Linked DNA regions of Homo sapiens: regions 1, 2, 3 and 4 are each linked to region 5. Evidence: promoter capture Hi-C in 16 types of primary human blood cells and fetal thymus (Javierre and others, 2016). All regions are on one chromosome and are shown on one strand. The core of a region is centred on a gene start or on the middle of the fragment in contact, and the rest is flanking DNA. Distances in the headings are between cores, read along the strand shown. Region 1 overlaps ADCY7 (adenylate cyclase 7). Region 2 overlaps BRD7 (bromodomain containing 7). Region 3 overlaps ADCY7 (adenylate cyclase 7). Region 4 overlaps ADCY7 (adenylate cyclase 7). Region 5 holds the start of NKD1-AS1 (NKD1 antisense RNA 1).

Region 1 (3,744 bases), core at 799-3,298, 290 kb after region 5:
CCACCAGGGCGTTTGGACTCCAGTACTCAAGACAGGCTCATAGCGCTGAAAGCAGTAACAAATTTTGGCGTTCCAGTTGAAGTTTTTGACTCTGAAGGTAAGTGTCTCCAGAGGGTTTGATTGAAACACTGCATGATGTAGGCAGTCAAGATTTCATGTCTCATAAGTACAGATTAACATAGCCATTCACCACAGGAAGATCTTGGCTTACCAAGTTAAATGAATGGGTATGGCGTGTTGATGTCATTTCAAGCGGATTACTCTTTTGAAGGGAGAAGGCTAACCAATAATTAGCAAAGCCCTAGAGCCTAGGATTCGGTTTACTGCACAAGATCAAACAGAAGTGTGTCTGTTTTCTTACCACACAGAAGCTGAAATATTCCAGAAGAAACTTGATGAGACCACCAGATTGCTCAGGGAACTCCAGGAAGCCCAGAATGAACGTTTGAGCACCAGACCCCCTCCGAACATGATCTGTCTCTTGGGTCCCTCATACAGAGAAATGCATCTTGGTATGTTTTGCCTCCCATAAGAGGAGAGTCACGGGATGCTTCAAAGAAAAAACTTCTTGAGTACAGTGGTGATGCCACTATAGAGTAATGCTGATGTGAATCCCAGGGACAGTTTTTTTGTTTTGTTTTCTTTGCATGTGTACATTTACTGTTCTTTGGGATGCCTCTATCTAAAGGAACCATGCTTTAGTATCTGGAACTTTGTTTTTCTTTTTAGCTGAACAAGTGACCAATAATCTTAAAGAACTTGCACAGCAAGTAACTCCAGGTGATATCGTAAGCACGTATGGAGTTCGAAAAGCAATGGGGATTTCCATTCCTTCCCCCGTCATGGAAAACAACTTTGTGGATTTGACAGAAGGTACGTGCCCTGTTTTCTCTGGGAAAGCAGAAAGCTATGGTGACTATAGTCATCCCTCAGTGTCTGCCCGAGATTGGTATCAGGACCTCGGATTTGGTATTTACCCCACAAAGATAGCAAAATCTGTAGATGCTCAAGTCCCTAACATAAAAGGTATTTGCCTATACCCTACACACAACCTCCAGTATACTTCAAATCATCTCTACTTATATACTTCATAGAATGTAGTTAATAGACTGTATTTTTTATATTTTTTTCATTGTTTGTTGTATTTTTTTAATTGGGTTTTTTCCCCAAATATTTTTAATTGGCAGTTGGTTGAATCTGCAGATGTGGAACCCATGGATAAGAAGGGTCAACTGTAAAAGGAACATTTATCTGTTTTTAATGTATAAACTACTCTTAGTTTTCTTTTTATCTTGTCTAAAGAATTAATAAAGATTTCCTGTGTGCAGAAGAGCCACAATGATCACCTGATAATGCGCGTAGTCTTCAGCCTTGGATGTGGTGAAGAAGGGCTCTCAGCAGTTATGCTTCTGGATGGCAGCTTGACTTTCATGTCCCCTTTTTAATTAAAAGGTAAAAACAATGTTGAATTAAGTGATGTCTTTTTCTTTCAGACACTGAAGAACCTAAAAAGACGGATGTTGCTGAGTGTGGACCTGGTGGAAGTTGAGGCTGCCTGGTATTTGATTATATATTATGTACATACTTTTTCATTCTTAACTTAGAAATGCTTTTCAGAAGATATTAAATATTTGTAAATTGTGTTTTTAATTAAACTTTGGAACAGCGAATTTGGATGTTCCAGAGGTTGGACTTGTATTAGGTAATAAAGCTGGACCTGGGACTCGTGAGGAAGGAATGTGCTTGGGGCTGTTGCCATACCTGTGCAGCATTCTTTCAAAATAGTGCCTTCCAATGCTTCTTCCTTATGTCCCACAGACAGGATCATCACTAAGAAGCGTTCTTAAAACGGCCCCATCCAGTGAGATTTTCCGTTATACGAACATACTTGAAATAATTTTAGAATTTACTACTGTGGTTCTGCCCCTGCATACCCAGTGGGAATGATGCCCTTGTATGGGTAATTAGGCACCTCCCACCCACCCCTGACAAAAGCACACTGGGAGTTTTATAGCACTGTCACATGGCTAGTGTTCTTTTTTGGTTTTTTCCGTTTTTTAAAGAAAGAGGAGTTACTTAGTACTATAGCAAAGTAATAAGCCAAATAAGATAAACTAAGTCATCCTTGAATAGATCAGGGAATTACCAGATTACCAAAAGGTGACATTTCTACTTTACTTACTGTTTATCTGAAATACAAAGGTCAAGTACCCAAGGAGTTGAACTCTAAGTAGGAGACCACAAGATTCATGGCCCCCTTTTATCAGCAAGCTGAGATAAATGGTGATTTTGCTGAATCGGTATAGAACCTGTTATACACAAGGGAAAAAAATCAGGATGGAGATAGATAGATAGATAGCCTTGTTCAGTGAACAAATTAAGTTTGAAGGCCCTTATACAATCCTTCTATAAATCACCCAGGCAGGAAGCCATTTGATTTCTATTATTTTCCTGACTTTGAAAATTAATTAGTATTTAGGAAGAACAAATAGGGTAAAGGAAAATTAATTCCCTCAAAAGACTTAAAATCTTATGCTAAAAGAGTCAAATTTTCAAGTTGTTTGAGTCTACTTTTAATCTCTAGTGAGTTCATGAGGACCACGAAAATAAAATACCTTCAGATATTTGAGTTTTTCAAATTGCTAATTTAATGTATAAAAAGCAGCTAAACACTGGTACTTTATAAAAATGAAACAGCATTTTGAAACAAATGTTACAGATCTATAAATATTCATTATATAGAATAAACCCTAGTTACTTGCATGCACCACCTCAAATCATATTTCTTTACACTGACCTATTATATACACAAAGTATACAGTGGTTAATGATCTTCTCTTCTGTTTGTTTGTTTGTTTGTTTGTTAGGAAATTTCCTCAATAAGCCAGAAAACCTTAGGTATTATTTTCACAAAAGTTAACTCAGGAGAAATTGTAAGGAAGTCCTTGACCCATGGAGAAGGTCACTGTTTGTTTGTTTGTTAGATACGTGTGTCTGTCATAAAACAAAATGACACCAGTAATTACTTGGTAATTTAAAAACAAGTTCATAAAAAGAAAATACCTGCAGGTAATTTTTATGGTCAGTTATATTCTATAACCTGAACACTGAAAACTAAAAACTTTTACTTACAAACTATTATTATCTGAGCACAGCACAGTGCTTTGCTTTAATTGGAAATAAAAATGCATGAGTGAGTGGTAGTCAGTTATTTGTTAAACTCCCAACTGGGGTTTCTGTTGTTACTGAAGAAAAAAACAAATATTCCAAGAGTACAAATATGCTGACCTCAGAGAGGCCCAGTGCACTAATGTGTTTCTATGTTATATTAGCAACAGAAACCTTCCTGACTTGCCAGGAGAGCCCCCGCCGGGCAGCCCTGGTCACTGCTAGATCTTGAGAGCACAGATTTCAGTATAGTATTCATGTGAAACCAGCCCTTCATGTAAAAAGTTTTGGTGTGTAAAAAAGGCAACTTAAGCGAGGCTAATTGCCCTTACCAGCATTGTTGCCATGAAATTCCTTTATACAGCAAGTTCTTCTATTCATACTGATTCCACTTATGTGCAGCACATGAGAGCTGCCACTAGTCTACCCAGCACCTTTGTGCAAATTAGAATACACCTGCCCTTCCTCGGGCTGATAAAGCCACACGACACAGCACAGGCAGACAGGTTCAATTTTCGTTCCCTCCACCGCCACCCCCGCACTTAGCTGTACTCTTAATTTGCAGCCCGGGGCAAC
Region 2 (3,809 bases), core at 1,272-3,771, 260 kb after region 5:
ACTGCCTCTCAAGCTGTCCTTTCTTCACAGGTCACATTTAATAGGAAGGAATCTGTGTCTCTGTGGCTGTTATTTCATAGAATGGATCTTCTAAACTTGCCAGCCTACCAAGATCCATACCAGTATTTCTGGACGAAGGATTTAAAATTTTCCAAAGTTAAGAATTACTGCAACAGAATATGTTGTGAGGTGGTAAAAATACATTAACCAACTAACAGTGGTAGCTGGGATCAAGCATGAGTTCAGTTTATAACTGCTCTCTGGAACTTTTAAAACAACCATATATTCTGTATTAGGTGCTTTGGATTCTGAAAATAGAGTGCAGAGCTCTAGATCAGTGATTCTCAAAGTGTGGTCCCTGTACCAGCAACACCCACATGGCCTGGAAACTTGTTAGAAAGTACAAATTCTCTGTCTCTACCCCATACCTGCAGATCAGTAATTCTAGGGACAAGGCCCAGCCATCTGTGTTTTTAATGAGACCTTCAGGTGATTCTAATGCACACTAAAGCTTGCGAACCACAAGAATTTTTGTTTCTTGCAAAATAAAATTTTTGTTTCTTGCAAAATCCTAAATAATCCTGATGCTGCCAGTCTGGTGACCATGCTTTGAGAACCATTGCTGTAGATACTAGAAATAAAAAATAGGGCATAGGCCAAGAAAATAGCTTTTTGAGTCCATAAGATCCTGTTGAGAATCTTGATTTTGATGAGCATAAAATGGGCATTGTTGGACAATTTTACTTCAGAATTTAAATTTTAAGAATGCAGAGTACAGAGAATAATAAAACTACCATCTTGATACCAACCATCCAGCTTTAACAGATCTCAACATTTAGCCATATATATATGTGTGTGTGTGTGTGTATATATATATATATATTTTTTTTTTCCCCTAAGGAAAGAAGAGGGCAGACAGAGATCCCTTATACCCTTTCAGAGTCCCATTTCTGTCTTTCCTTCTGATAGAACCACTGTACTGAATTTGGTGTATATCACATGCATGTTTTTATAATTACAAGTTCTGCATACATCTGTAAACAATGTATGCTTACACATTTTCATACATAGCTTGTAACAGTAATTGTTCTGCAACTTTTCTTCAGACATTGTTTCTGAATGTTATCCATGTTGATACAATACAATTTTAGCTCATTTACATTACCTGTTATGTAAATATGACACAATTTATTAATCTATTTTCCTTTTAATAGGCATTGGATTATTCCTATTTTTTACTATTTTAAACAATGCTGCAGTAATCTCTTACAAGTCTCCATGTAGACCATACGACAGGAAATTTCTCTGGTATATGCACAGAGAGTAGCAGTTGAGAAGTAGGTTAAAGGCTTTGCTAGCTTTGCTAGATATTGCTAATTGCTCTGCTAAGGATTGTTCCTATTCACCCAATTGCAAGGTATGAAAATCCCATTTCTCTACATTTTTATCAAAACTTGACATTTCAGACAAATGTTGCCAAAGAGAGGCGAAATGCCTTCTAGTTTTTAAATCTATAATTACCCAAGTTCTAGGGAGCTTGAGCTAGTTCTCATGTTCTCAACATTTCACATTTCTTATTCTGTGAGTTACCTGTGATATCACTTATCTATTTCTTTTTTGGATTTTTTGCCTTTTTGCATAGATTTATAGATGCTCTTCATGGAATCCTTAATGTTTTATAAGTTGTGTTTCAAGTACTTTATCTCAGTCTATCGTTAGATTTTTAACTTGGTTCATGGATTTTGTTGAGGTACCAAAATTTATCAACTTAATATCAAATTTATCAAGGTTTTCCTTTAAAATTTATTCATTTTATATCTTTTTAAGAAAGTCTTTTTCTACTCTTGGGTCTTAAAGATGCTTTTCTTTTATCTGAAGTTCTGAAGCTTTGCTTTGTACATTTAAGTCTTTATCTGGAATTCACTTTTGTGTATGGCATGAAGTAGAGCTCAAATTCTATTTTCTCTTTTCAGGTAACAGTTGTCTCAGCACCACCCTTTTGTCATTGACTTATAATGTCACCTCTGTGATATACTAAGATTATTCTATGTACATGGGTCTGTTTCTGGGCTCTGATCTCTTCTGTTGGCTTATTTGTCTGTGTGTCAGACCCACATTGTCTTATTATCACGTTATACAAATAATATCTGGTAAGACGTATCATCTTACTCTGACCTTTTTCAAAACTATTGTGTTCTTAATCGTTCACTCTTCGAGGTAAATTAATGCAATTGGCTTGTTGAATTCCATGGAAATTTTTGTTTTTAAATTTCGATTGGCATTACATCGAATGTATTGATAACTTGAGAGAGGATTGACTCTGAATTCATGAACATAGTATATCTCCTTTATTCAGGCCTTCTGTGACCTTCAGTAATGTTTCACAGTTTTTCCCAAAAGGTTTTGGGTATCTTTTATTAGATTTATTTCTATATACACTATGTTGCTTTTTTGGATAGTATTGTTTTTCTAACTGGTTATTTCTGGCATAGAGACCCCCTTTGTTTTTTCCTTCGTGAACGTATTATTCTCTCCTTTTCCAGTAGATGGCAGTAAAGTACATTGAGCTTGTTATTAAGAATATTTTCTTTACAATGATGTCTTTTTACCCCTTAAAATGATTTATGTATTTAAAGATATTGGTTCTGAAATATTTCTAAATTATCTCCCTTTGTTCCATTTAGGAGGATAAAAAGAAGCGAGATCGAGACCGGGTGGAGAATGAGGCAGAAAAAGATCTCCAGTGTCACGCCCCTGTGAGATTAGACTTGCCTCCTGAGAAGCCTCTCACAAGCTCTTTAGCCAAACAAGAAGGTTGGAATAACTCTGAATTAACTATCCTGAATGAGGAGGCTGAAATCATTATAGCTCAGGAAAATGGTGGGGTTTTAGCTTCTAAGTTGGAGCTTTGTGATTGAATTTTTAAGTTTTTTCTCTCAAACTGCATAAGAGCTTTAAATTAGCTTCAATTTTGGATTAATACTCTCAAACTTCAATATATTTTTAAGATAAATGGAATTTCTGTATGAGATATTTAATAATGGTTGTAGAAAATGATCTAGTAAATAATACTCTCTAGAATACTCCTTTTTAAAATACCCTTTTCCCTTCTTCTTTGCTTTAGAAGTAGAACAGACACCCCTTCAAGAAGCTTTGAATCAACTGATGAGACAATTGCAGAGGTAAATGTTTTTCCAATATTTTTATAACATAGAAATTAAAATGGTAGATGTGTAGGATCCAAACCACATTTGTGCCTAACTCCAAACATACGTGATTTTAAAGTGAATGATAAATATTTTGCCTGGCAGCAGAAGTACTCCAAGAGGCTAGGCTAACTTTTAGATATTCTTTATTTGGTTTGTTTCCCTGGCAACTTGAAGGGTGTTACATAATACTTTTAATGACAAATTTCTGTCTCTAAAGTAATTTCTGATGTTAAAACTTTAAGCCAGGAATAAACAATACAGATATTTCCACTTTGCTAATAGATGGAAATACCTTCTATGTATTTGTACAATGCTTATCATGCCACAAATGTTTAGCAATTATTAAGTATGGGAGAAAAAATAAAACACCATAAATAGGAATTATGGCCTTCTTTTAAATGCAGAAATTGGTTCTAAAAATTTCAGTGCCTAGATTAAGCTACTGTTGAGTTCTTAAAAGGGAAAAGAATAACTCAATCTTTATTAAAATATTTATTTTGGGCCGGGTGTGGTGGCTCACGCCTGTAGTCCCAGCACTTTGGGAGGCCGAGGCGGGCAGATCACGAGGTCAGGAGATTGAGACCATCCTGGCTAACATGG
Region 3 (3,601 bases), core at 855-3,354, 310 kb after region 5:
TGGGGGTTTCCTCCAAGGTGCGGGCCAGGCTCTCCAGGGCCCCTCCAGTCCCTCCGGGTCCCCCCCAGCTGCGGCCTCTGAGCCCTCGTACCCGGGGGTCGATGACCAGGTAGGTGCGGATGTTCATCTCCTTGAGGTAGGGGTCCCGCTGCTGCCCGTGCCCATCCTCCACCTCGTACGCCTTGTCCAGGTGCTTTAGCGTGGCCTCCGTGATGTGCACCCGGCTACGGGAGACCCAAGTCAGGCAGAGCCTTGGGGCCCAGAGAGGGCTGGCATCCACCCAGGGATGCACAGCAGGCAGGCCTGGGCCCCAGGCCAGCTTTTCTACATTCATCTCTCCCTCCACACCTGACCCCCACCCCCAACCGCAGAACCCTCCATCCACAGCCAGCCCCAGGCCTCTGTCCCTGCGGCTACCCAGCCCAGCCTCACCCGGGTACTCCGGCTGCCTCCATCCGGTTGGCCAGGGACACGTCGTGGGACCACACGTCATACTGCCACTTGCGCAGCCCGATGACCCCGCACAGCACATTCCCCGAGTGTATGCCCACACGCATGTTGATGTCCACGCCCGTGGCCTCCCGCACCTGCCTGGGGCAGAGTGGCCCAGTCACCCCAGCCCTGCCTAAGCCCTGGGACAGGCTGAAGCTCCCAGGTGTGGGGTGGGTACAGGGCAGCATGTGGGAACAGGGCAGGCGCTCAGCCCACGGGAGAGAATGTTCTCAGCCTGATGGGGCTGCCTCTTCAGGAAGAGCTGAGTGCCCCATCCCCAGGAGCATACAAGTAGGTGTGGCCACAGCTGACCTCAAGGACTAGGTAGGAGGGAGGAGGAATTCCAACTAGTCACTACAGCCCATGTTGATGGACCTAAAATACCATCACTGGGTGTTTTCCCTGCCCAGCAGCACCGGCTGGGTTTTAAAAGTTTACTGGGGGCCGGGCGTGGTGGCTCATGCCTGTAATCCCAGCACTGTGGGAGGCTGAGGCAGGCAGATCACCTGAGGTCAGGAGTTTTGAGACCACCCTGGCCAATATGGCAAAACCCTGACTCTACTAAAAATATAAAAATTAGCCGGGCATGGTAGCAGGCGCCTGTAGTCCCAGCTACTTGGGAGGCTGAGACAGGAGAATCGCTTGAACCCAGGAGGCAGAGGTTGTGGTGAACCGAGATACGCTCTGGGCAACACAGCGAGACTCCATCTCAAATAAATAAATAAATAAATAAAGTTTACTGGCGTCTACAGAGGGGGTCCAGGAACCACCCAAAACCTAGCATAGACAAGGAACACAGGGGCCCAGACCATGGGCACCTTCTATGCCCCCCCAATCCCTGGGAAGCAGGGGCCCTGGGAGTTGTTAGCACCACTGAGCACAGGAGCAGAGCCCCACGGGAGAGCTTCCTTGGGGCACAGGGGACGCCCAAGACAGGAACAGAGCCTGAGTCCCCATGACAAGCGGCACCACGTGTCCACCAACAAGGCTGGGCACTGACCAAGCCTTCCAGGGTCGGAACCAGAGGTGCACGAGGGCCTGTACAACCTCCGCCTGTTACAGGGCAGGGGCCAGCCTGAGGTCACACAGGCAGTGGTGCAGGCCAGGCCCCTCCAGCTCTGCCCAGGCTTCTTTCTGGCAACACCAGCCACCTATGGCAGGACTTCAGGAGAAGGACAGGCTGGAACACGGCCTGATATCCAGGACGGGCAGCCCCACCGGGCCCTGCTCTGCCCCACACTGGTCAGCCTGGCTGGGCCTGCCTGGCCCTCTCCCCATACAGCCCTCTCGGCAAATTCCTCCCACAGACCCCAGCTGCTCAGAGCCACAGGGGACCTAGAGGGGAGCGGGGGGTCTCCCCGCAGCCTCAGGACCAAGCCTGACTCCAGGATCTTCACTGGGGAGCAGGAAGCAGATGGAGCCTTGGAGTCGACCCCTGGGTCGGAAAGGTCCCCCGGCTGCCTACCCTGAAGCCTCCTGCTGTTGCTAAGACCCCATCCTTGAGGGGAGCGGAGCCCACCGCCCTGACCTCACATCACCCAGCTCTGAGCTCCGGAGATGCTTTCTGGGACTCAGAGTCACAGGCAGCACCACAGGGAGGGACGCAAACAGATGAAGTCTGAATCCTCCAGCAGGCTGGGTGGTCCAGGCAAGCTGCTTTCACCCCCAACCCCCCGAGCCTCAGTTTCCCCATCTGTGACATGAGAATGACACATCCCCTACCATGCCCAGGAGGGTCCGCCACAGGGCAGGACCCAGGGCCTGGGCCCGCCCAGGACCTACTTGATGGCCTGGCACATGTCCAGCCCCATCTTCACGCAGTTCCGGGCGTGGGTAGGCAGCGACACGGGCAGGCCCGATACACAGTAGTAGCAGTCGCCGAGGATCTTGATTCGCATGCACTCGTTGGCCTGCAGGGTGAGGGAAGGGCCTGGTCACTGGAAGATGTGGGGCTGGGACCTCTCACGACAGCCGCCTCCCCCCACCCTCCAGGGTGCACCCGGCTCTCTCCTGGCTGGGGGCTTGCCTCCTGGGGTCCAGTCACCAGGAGCCACTTCTGGGCCTGGCAAAAGGCTTAGCGACATGGGGGCCTCCCCAGGAGGAACCCCCAGGCAAGCACCAGAGGTGAACACGAGTGTTCCTAAGGGCCTCGGGGAGGGGTCTGCCTTGGTTTCATTTGCCCAGGTAATGTTTGAGTGCCTACTGAGTACCCGGCCCCAGGCCAGGCAAGGGGACACAGCAGTGAACAAAATAGATGCAAATCTCTGCAGCCACGGAGCTTGCACGTAGGCAGGAGGGGTGGGCACTAAACTAGAAAGACAAAAACAAAACAGTGTGCCCAGCTGTGATGGGGGCTAAGGAGAAAACCAAGGCACAGGAGGGAAGTGATGTTCCCAGGAGGCCAGCGAAGACCTCTCAGAGTTGGAATCAGAAACATTTGAGCTAAGACCCCGAGGAACCGAGAGAGCCGGCCATGCCAGTCTCTGCAGGAAGAGTACTCAAGGACTCACAGGAGCCCTGGGGCCACAAAGCTGGGGAAGAGACTGCGAGGTAGCCAGGAGGCTGCAGGAGTGGGGGGTGAGGACAGAGGTCACAGGTGTACACACCAAGGGATCAGCAGGTTTCAAGGTCACCCAAGCAGTGGCTGTGCTGACAGGGCTTAGGGGTGGGGAGGAAAGATATCAATGCAGAGAGGAAAGAGGGAATGGGGAGGGCAGAGTAGGAGAGCGGCGAGGGTGGGGACTCATAGGAAAAGGCCCAGGGAGAGAAGGGGACCCCCGAGAGCCCTCTGAGGTTCATCTGAGGCACTGCTGCGTCACCAGACCCTCCTTAAGCCCTCAGCAAGGGTGGCCACATGCACCGAGGCCTCATGGGTGGGGCTTTAGGGGAGCTGAAGAAGGAGCGCCATCTGCCTCTGCTCTCCCCTCCCCACCCTCTACCCCACTCAGCTGACCCTCGGACTGGACGCCCCAGCAGGTGGCCCTGTGCTCTGGCTTCTGGCCAGGAGGGAGCTAAGAGGGCTCTGTCCTGCAGGCTCACGAGGGCTAGGCCTGCTCCTGGAACACCATCTGTCTCCAGGACTCGAGCCTATCCTGTCCTCGTCCCTACT
Region 4 (4,043 bases), core at 253-2,752, 330 kb after region 5:
TGAGGAGACTGCAGTCCCAGGGGGTCCCTTACTTACTCTCACCTCACGACCACCCCAGTGGTAGAGCAGGGTGAGCAGCCCCATTTTAAAGAAGAGGGGACTCCCCTGTGGGGAAGGTGTCCACATGGGAGGAGGGTATTTCATGCTTCTGCTGTGCAATGTCCCTTCTCCCGACCCTCAGTACCCTGGTTCATGGGCCACATGACCCCAGTGTGGCCAATCAGCAAAGTCCCTCTCAAGCCCTAATGCCACAGGCCTGGGAAGTGAAGGCTCTCTTTGGACTTCTGCTGACCCAGGGAAAGAGGCGTTCTCTTTTGTCGGTGACCTGACACTGTCAGCAGACACCCGAGCCACCACAAGGAGAGAGCCCACCTGAAACTGACACCAACATGGAGAACTGGCACAAGACAGGGGCCTGGCAACACCTCCTGGGGTCACAGGAGCCAGCTGTGCCTGAAGCTTACGCAACCTCTAGATATTTAACCACATGGGACAAGCAATGCCCCTTTCAGCTTCAGCCAGTTTGAGCTTCTGTCACTCGCAACCAAGAGTCTCAAAGTCCACATCAGGCTTCTGGACCCAGTTTGTTGCGTCTAACAAGCACCCGTGGCCCCTCAGTGGGTTCAGAGTCAACTGGAAGGGTCTCAGTCAGCACAGAGGTAAGAGTGTGCCCCTGCAGACACAGCCAGTCCTCCAGAAAGGAGCTGGGTCTTGGAGGGGACAGCCCCGCTCATCCCTCCATCACACTTTCCAGGCTCCACAGCCCAGCCCCAGCCAGGAGTTCAGGAGTTTAAGACCAGCCTGGGCAATATAATGAGACCCCATCGCTATAAAAAGTTGTTTATTTTTTTTTTAATTAGCCAGGCTTGGTGGCATACACTTGTAGTCCAAGCTACTTGAGAGGCTGAGGCAGGAGAATTGCTTGAACCCAGGAGGTCAAGGCTACATTCACTGAACTATGATCATGCCACTGCACTCCTGCCTGGGTGATAGAGAATCCTGTCTGGAAAAAAAAAAAAAGCTGGGATTTAAACACAGGATATCCGGGGTCCCTATCACCCTCATGGGGCTGGCATCCAGAAATCCCATAATATCCCAAAACACCAACCTCTTCCCTACAAACAAGGCCCAGGACAGAGCTATGACCAAGAGGTGGGGAGCTCAGGGGACCCCATCGAATTACTTCCCTCTGCCTTGCAGGAGCAAGTTCAGGCCAGCGAACTCCAGGAGGGCCTCCTCCTCCAGGAAGCCTGCTGAGCAACCCCACACACACTCCCTTATCCCTTCCCTGCAACTAAGGCAGGACTGTGGTCTCCTTATCAAATACTGGCTGGCTGGGTCCAGGTTCTCCAGCCAGAAGACCTGCTGGAAGCAAGAGGCTGGGACTCCATACTGCAACTGCAGGGCCAGGTCCCTGGGTGCTCGGAAAATCCTTCCCCAGTCCAGCTGATCTGGCAGCGTCCCCAGCACAACCACAGCCCTTGCAGGGAGTATGTTCTAGAAACCCCCAGCTTTCACAGATGCAGACAGGACACCCACTTCCTCACCCGGCCACTGTTGGCAGAAACCACAGCCTGGCTTCCTCCGGCCGAGCCTCAGCAGGCTCAGGGCTGCTTTGGGGCCCTGTTGGCCTCAAAAAGGGGAAGTGGGGACCTTGGAGTGAGGGGGGCATGGAAGCCTCCAGGGAAGAGGCCCCGCTCAGGCCCCTGGGCCCACACCCTGCCTGGGACGCCACGCAGCTCCAGACAAAAAACCTGCATGCTCCGTCTCGCGCCCCCGGTCCTGCCGGCTCTCGGCTCCCCTGGTAGGCTGGGTCTCAGGCAGATTTTTCATTTGCCAAGGGAATCTCATATTAACGCGAACTCTCTCAAGAGACCCTGAGCTCCATGAAGCCAGCAGCTGCTCTGCCCAGTGCAAGCCTGACCTAAGAGGCCCCCAGTAAACCTCGTGGGACCCAGGGATTCAATGTTGCTGGTATTCAAGGTCCCATCCCCCCAAGCCCAGCCCTCTCTGTCCCCAGAGCCCTGTGGCCCCCATGCCCTGCTCTCCCAGGCACCTCCCGTACCAAGAGGCCTTCCCAGTGTGGGTCCAATATCCCGGCCCCTGACTTGCCAAACTGTCGTGGTGGGATCTGTGTGTGTGTGTCCCGCAGCTGGTCCTGGCAAACACCTGTGACGTGAATGGCCGAGCAGGGTAGCCAGCCAGAATCCTGCACCAGGCCCAGGGTGGGGAAGCACGCAGAGTGGCATGGGTGAGGGAGGAGGGCGCCACAGCCAAAGGATGAGGGCAGATGAAGAAAGGGCCTCCCTCAAGATCGGGAAGCACCTGCTGCACCTGCCGCACCTGCCTTACCTGCCACAGCACACCTCTCCCAGCTACGCTTGGCCTCTGGGAGGATGCCTGCACCCAATCCCAGCTCTGCTACCAATGGCCTGTGAATAGCAGTCGCCTGCACACTCTGGCCTCAGTTTCCTCATCAGTAAACTGGGGGTGCTGATAACCAGGTTGTCTGCACAGGTCATGATGTCCAACAGGCCAAGCTTGCAAGACAAATTGGCAAATGGCCAAGAAGGCACGCTTAGTGTCAGAGGAAGCCCTGCAGGGTCAGAGCCCAACCATGGGGTCCAGGGAGAGGCAGGTGCAGAGTGGGCAGGCCCCCCACCGCATCTCCTAACAGCCTGCAAAGTTGCCGAGCAGGGGCAAAGACTGAAATTCCCCAACGGCATGAGCCCCCAGCCAACCCTGCTCCCCCTCCATAGCCCCCAAGCACCCCCAGGCTGACTTTGTTCCCACTCCCAGGGCACAGGCTGCTGATCAGTCTTGGGGACCAGAAACCTGCATTCCAGTCCCAGCTTAGCCACCAACCTGCTCTGTGACCCTAAACAAGTCTCTTGCCTGACCTGTGCCTTAGTTTCCCCTCTTGCAAAGGAGGGGCTGTGTCAGACCTCTGAGGCCAGCTCTGGCCTAGTTGGGACTGGGCTGGGGGTGGAGGCTGAATCAGTTAATGAAAAGGATAGGCAACTGGAGAAAAACTGAGGGAAAAGGCTGATGTTCTCACCTGGCCCCAGAGAGCTACTTCTAGGGATGGGTAGAAAGTTGTTCTTTGATTCTTTGGGACACAGCTAGGGTAGTGTTAAGAGGGAAATTCATAGCACTAAATGTCCGAATCAAAAACTTAGAAAGATCTCAAATTAACAACCTAACTTCACAACTGAAAGAACTAGAGAAGCAAAAACAAATCAACCCCAAGCCTAGCAGAAGACAAGAAATGACAAAAATCAGAGCTGAACTGAAGAAAATCAAGACACAAAAAACCATTCAAAAGATCAACGAATCCAGGAGTTGTTTTTTTTTTTTTTGAAAAAATTAATAAAATAGGCCACTAGCTAAACTAATAAAGAAGAAAAGAGAAAAGATCCAGATAAACACAATTAGAAATGACTACAGGAATGTTACTAATGACCCCACAGAAATAAAAAACAACCATCAGAAACTACTACAAACACCTCTACACACAAAAACTAGAAAACCTAAGAGATGGATAAATTCCTGGACACACAATCCTCCCATGACTGAGCCAGGAAGAAACTGATTCCCTGAACAGATCAATAATGAGCTCCTAAATTGAATTAGTAATAAATAGCCTACCAATAAAAGGCCAGGACCTGATGGATTCACAGCTGAATTCTACCAGATATACGAAGAAGAGCTAGTACCATTCCCACAGAAACTATTCAAAAAAATTGAGGAAGAGGGACTCCTCCCTAACTCATTCTATGAGGCCAGCATCATCTTGTTACCAAAAACTGCCAGAGACACAACAAAAAAAGGAAAAAAAAAGTGTTCTTTGTTCCTGAAATCCTCCCCTCCACTTCATTCATTTGGTTAAGCATTACCCTGATCAATCTCCCCTTTAAAATGCACCCCCAAGGCTCCAGCTGCCAATGATAATGAATCCAGGTCCACTATGTCTCATGCCCATTCTAATGCTAGTTAGTGACTGCCCAGGGAGAGTTCGTCCATGCATACCTTCAGCAGATGTG
Region 5 (3,678 bases), core at 467-2,966:
TATCTATACCCTGAGATATATATGTCTATAGTGCAGTGTCTATCACACTATAGGTGCTGCATCATCAGCAGCATCATCAAAATGAAACAACGGTAAGTAGCAGAACCAGGATTTGAACCCAGAAGTTGTGGAACAAAGAGAACTAAATCCCAGTTTCCCAACTCCTCAACCACTGGCCTGTCCACTCTCTCAGACCACAATAGCTGACACCTGTTCCTGCCTGTCCAGCAATCCTTCTCCTCCTTCTGATGATAGCATCTGGCTTTCCTCCCCAGAGCTACTCATCCCCCACTCTCAGTCTATCTAGTTTATGGAGACTGATCCCACTCCAGGGTCACACTGCACTCAGTACCCCTACCTGACCCAGCTTGTTTCATCCTGAAGGCCACGTGGCTGGTCCTAGGTCAGTATGAAAGAAGAGTTTATGAAGAAGCTAATGAAGCTAGGCTTCTGGGCCCTCTCACCTACACGGGCCCTTTCCAAGTCAGGATGGGTCTTTGCAAGGTGTTTATGTGGTCATATGTGTTTGTATTTGTAACATTTTCCAAATTAGGCATTTTATCCTCAATCTATTAAGATTGTCATCTAACCATTCTGACATCCTTTGCCTGTGTGAGGTGATACTAGGGGAAATACAGGCATTTCTGGACATGAGCTAAGGAGAGACTGAGTTGGTGAGATATTTATTTTGGTTTGGCCCCAGAAAGCTTCAGGTCCCATAAAACCTAGATCTACCCTGGTCAAGTGACCAGTAAAGTGGTCAATAAAGTGAGTCCAACATGTGCAAGAACCCCTGTGACCTGGGAACTTTCTTCCACCTGACAGGGCTGTGCTCATAGGATGGGAGTGCCCAGAGCTGGGAACTGCCACCCTTGCCCCCTGTGGGGGAGAAGCCACCAGGGGACAGAGGGAGAGATGATGGAGAGGGAGAGAGAGGGGCAGCGAGCGAGACATGTGTGTGAATGTGTGAGTATACGTGTGTGTGTGAGTGTGTGTGTGTGCGTGCATGTGTCCATGACATGGTTTTAGCTCCAGAATCCAAACAGGCCTTTTTAGGCAAGATCTACCCTAGGATTTTTCAATTTCATGAGCCAAAAGTTTAAGTGAGTTTCCAAAAGAACCGAAAGAATCCTGACTTAACAAATCCGTCTCTCTGAGATCCTGCTTTTTAGGAAAAACCACCAGCACCAGCACCACAGCAGTAATTCACTCACCCAGGGCAGTCCCTCTAGGGTGATTTCCAGCTTTTTCACCTGTGGGTGTCTGCCCCTTCCTGAGACCAGAAATGCCACCAGGGACTTCTTCTCCACCATCCTGCCTCCCAGCTGCATTTTACTGCCACTAGATTTTGCTTATGGACCAATTGTAACTGAGGGGAAACAAAAAAGGGGGAAAAGCGGGTAGGGGAGGAAATCCTTCTCAACAAATAACATTCTGGCCTTTTTTTCCTCATCAGAGCATAAGGCTGGTGGCCACTCGGCTTTGACATCTGAACAGGATTGAGACGAAACATCTGTTCAGGGAGGGAGGGGGAAGCCCCGGGAGAGAAGGGGAAAGGGGAGAAAAAGCCTTCTGTGGGCTAAAAATATCACGTCCCTTCCACTCTCCCCCGCCCGCCCCCACCCAAGTTAAAACATGTGATGAAATTCGGCTTTTACAATCTAACCCCGAGCTACTTGAAACTATTAAAGCCTCTCCGGTATCTGACACAAGTCAGAATTTCCACTGTTCCAGCTGAGCTTTTATGAGGAGCAGACTTGAGAGAAACTGCCAAGGTAACAAAGTCCGCTTGTTCTCTGTCACCGCTGCAACTCAGCTTCTGGGGGGACTGTAGGGGAGTGGAGAGTCAGGGCCGCTGACACCCCCCGACAGGACAGGCTCTGAACTGAGGGAGAGGAGCCGGCGGGGCATGGGCACCTGCCCCTCCATCTGGGGGTCCCTGCTGCCTTCCCATGAACTCCTCTTCCTCCCAGCCTTCCTGGGAAGCCACCGCCAGCCCTGTGTATTGAGGAGCCTTGCCCGAGAGTCCCGGGCAATGTCCGTGGCTACTTCCTGAGAAGTCTTGACTCGCTCTCTCTCTCTGTTTCTTGCCCAACTGCTCCTTGAACCCCAAGCTCCAATCACCAGGTATCCCACGGCCTCCTCGGTACCTCTCCTTGGATGTTAAATGGGCATCTTGAACCCAACTGGTCCAAAAACGGGAGGCTTGATGGTCACCCGCCAAAACCTCCACCTCAGAAGTGACACCGCCAAATCCTTAGTTCCTGAAACCAAAAGTCTAAGATGCATCCCTGATCTCTCTCGTTCCCTCAACCCCCTTCTCACCAGCTCCAACCTCCAGCCCCATGGACCTCTCCCCAGCCCCAAGCTCCCAGGCTAGGCCAGCACCATCTCCTCTCGCCTGCGACCCTGCAGTCACCTCCTGGTTTCATTGCCCTCTTCCTCCCTGCCCATGGGCAGTCCCTCCCAGAAGCCAGAATTAACTTCTTAAAACAGAGGTCAGAATCCAGCAGTCACCCACCCAACCATCTGGGCAGAACCACGCAACCTAAGGGCGTGGTCCCACACTTGCCGACCACCCCACTCTCATTCCTGATGCCACATCGGCCTCCTTTTTGTTCTTCCCCAAACACCAAGTTCCCTCCACTCTGGGGTTCTGCTCACTCATAGCTGCTCTCCCCCTACATTCTTCCATGGCTGGCTCCTTCCTGGCATCTGCATCTCAGCTGAAACATCACCTTCTCAGAAAAGCCTCCTCACTCTACCTCTCCCTGGGTTTTACGTCTTAGCAGAGAACCACTACTAGAAACTTCCATGCTCCTTCGCAGATTTATGTATTCATCCCTGCCTCCCTCCTGTGAATGTCGTGACTGCTGGGCCTGCCTACCTTGCTCGTGCCTGTGAACCCAGGGCCCAGCAGAGCCCCTAGCTGCAGCAAATGCCCAGCACATACTGAATGGTGAGGAGTGAGGGGCCAGATTCTGTTCTCAGTCTGCTGTGTGACCCTGGACAGGTCACTTCCCTCTCTGGGCTTCAGTTTTCCAACTACAGATGAAAGGAAGTACAGGCCTCCCAAGTTCCTTTGCCCAACATCTGACCCCTGGGAGCCTGGACAGACTGGCCCAGGCCCCAACACAGGTACACAGGTCCTGCCTGAGAGGCCGGAGGGAGGGGTCACCTGCTTTCAGTGAGGCAGAGGGAGAGGTCACCTGCTTTCAGTGACTACAGGGTATTGACTTTCCTTCTTCAGTGAGTGTTTATTTATTGAGCACATACAGCATGCCAGACCCTACTCCAGGCACCAGGAGTACGGGGAGGCCTTTGGAGATTCTAACAGGATTAAAGAAGCTTTGCAAAGAGGTCCTCTTTGATCTGGGCTAGGTAAATGATTATAAACACGGGCTGACACCTCTTCAAGAAAACTGAACCCAGGAAACAAGAATCATGGCAGCTCAAGTGTGCTGGGCACTTACTCTGTACCAGGGCCACCCTTGCGACCTACATCCATCACCTCATTGTCTTCACAATAACCCTGGCAAAGAAGTGCTACAAGGAACCCAGTGAGGAAGTTGAGCCACAGGGAAGTGACTCACCCAAGGTCACACAGTGAGTGTGGGTAAGCCAGGCTGGAATGGGGTCTGAGCTGCGAATTCACAGGAAGTCAGAATCAAGGGAGGA

What was found. The method cuts DNA at HindIII sites, captures the fragments that hold promoters and counts their contacts. A CHiCAGO score of 5 or more calls a contact.
Region 1: a contact is called between a fragment that was not itself captured here and the fragment with the promoter of NKD1-AS1 in region 5, in 3 of 17 cell types (naive CD4 T cells, non-activated CD4 T cells and total CD4 T cells). The highest score is 6.9, in naive CD4 T cells.
Region 2: a contact is called between a fragment that was not itself captured here and the fragment with the promoter of NKD1-AS1 in region 5, in 10 of 17 cell types (naive CD4 T cells, non-activated CD4 T cells, activated CD4 T cells and 7 more). The highest score is 12.1, in naive CD4 T cells.
Region 3: a fragment that was not itself captured here is called in contact with the fragment with the promoter of NKD1-AS1 in region 5 in 7 of 17 cell types (naive CD4 T cells, non-activated CD4 T cells, total CD4 T cells and 4 more); the score reaches 9.3 in naive CD4 T cells.
Region 4: a contact is called between a fragment that was not itself captured here and the fragment with the promoter of NKD1-AS1 in region 5, in 3 of 17 cell types (naive CD4 T cells, non-activated CD4 T cells and total CD4 T cells). The highest score is 7.1, in naive CD4 T cells.

The regions. Positions count from the first base shown.
Region 1 is chr16:50,317,016-50,320,759 of GRCh38, reverse strand. ADCY7 (adenylate cyclase 7) reads right to left here. Exons shown (of 26, transcript NM_001114.5): 26 at 2,625-3,744. BRD7 (bromodomain containing 7) reads left to right here. Exons shown (of 17, transcript NM_013263.5): 14 at 1-97; 15 at 369-512; 16 at 730-873; 17 at 1,494-3,744. The coding sequence ends at 1,549. Among named protein-coding and RNA genes, the nearest start is that of MIR6771, 26 kb to the right of the region's middle. RefSeq lists an enhancer at 467-1,666. The HindIII fragment of the contact is 7,497 bases long and covers 1-3,744 here.
Region 2 is chr16:50,353,798-50,357,606 of GRCh38, reverse strand. It overlaps BRD7 (bromodomain containing 7), which reads left to right. Exons shown (of 17, transcript NM_013263.5): 3 at 2,685-2,814; 4 at 3,125-3,182. Among named protein-coding and RNA genes, the nearest start is that of BRD7, 13 kb to the left of the region's middle. The HindIII fragment of the contact is 1,265 bases long and covers 1,889-3,153 here.
Region 3 is chr16:50,297,705-50,301,305 of GRCh38, reverse strand. ADCY7 (adenylate cyclase 7) reads right to left here. Exons shown (of 26, transcript NM_001114.5): 8 at 2,275-2,402; 9 at 433-591; 10 at 92-224. Among named protein-coding and RNA genes, the nearest start is that of MIR6771, 6.9 kb to the right of the region's middle. The HindIII fragment of the contact is 4,762 bases long and covers 1-3,601 here.
Region 4 is chr16:50,279,691-50,283,733 of GRCh38, reverse strand. The region is part of intron 1 of ADCY7 (adenylate cyclase 7); the gene reads right to left. Among named protein-coding and RNA genes, the nearest start is that of MIR6771, 11 kb to the left of the region's middle. The HindIII fragment of the contact is 2,081 bases long and covers 462-2,542 here.
Region 5 is chr16:50,611,688-50,615,365 of GRCh38, reverse strand. NKD1-AS1 (NKD1 antisense RNA 1) reads left to right here and starts at 1,716. Exons shown (of 3, transcript XR_007065197.1): 1 at 1,716-1,775. The region is part of intron 4 of NKD1 (NKD inhibitor of Wnt signaling pathway 1); the gene reads right to left. The HindIII fragment of the contact is 2,641 bases long and covers 710-3,350 here.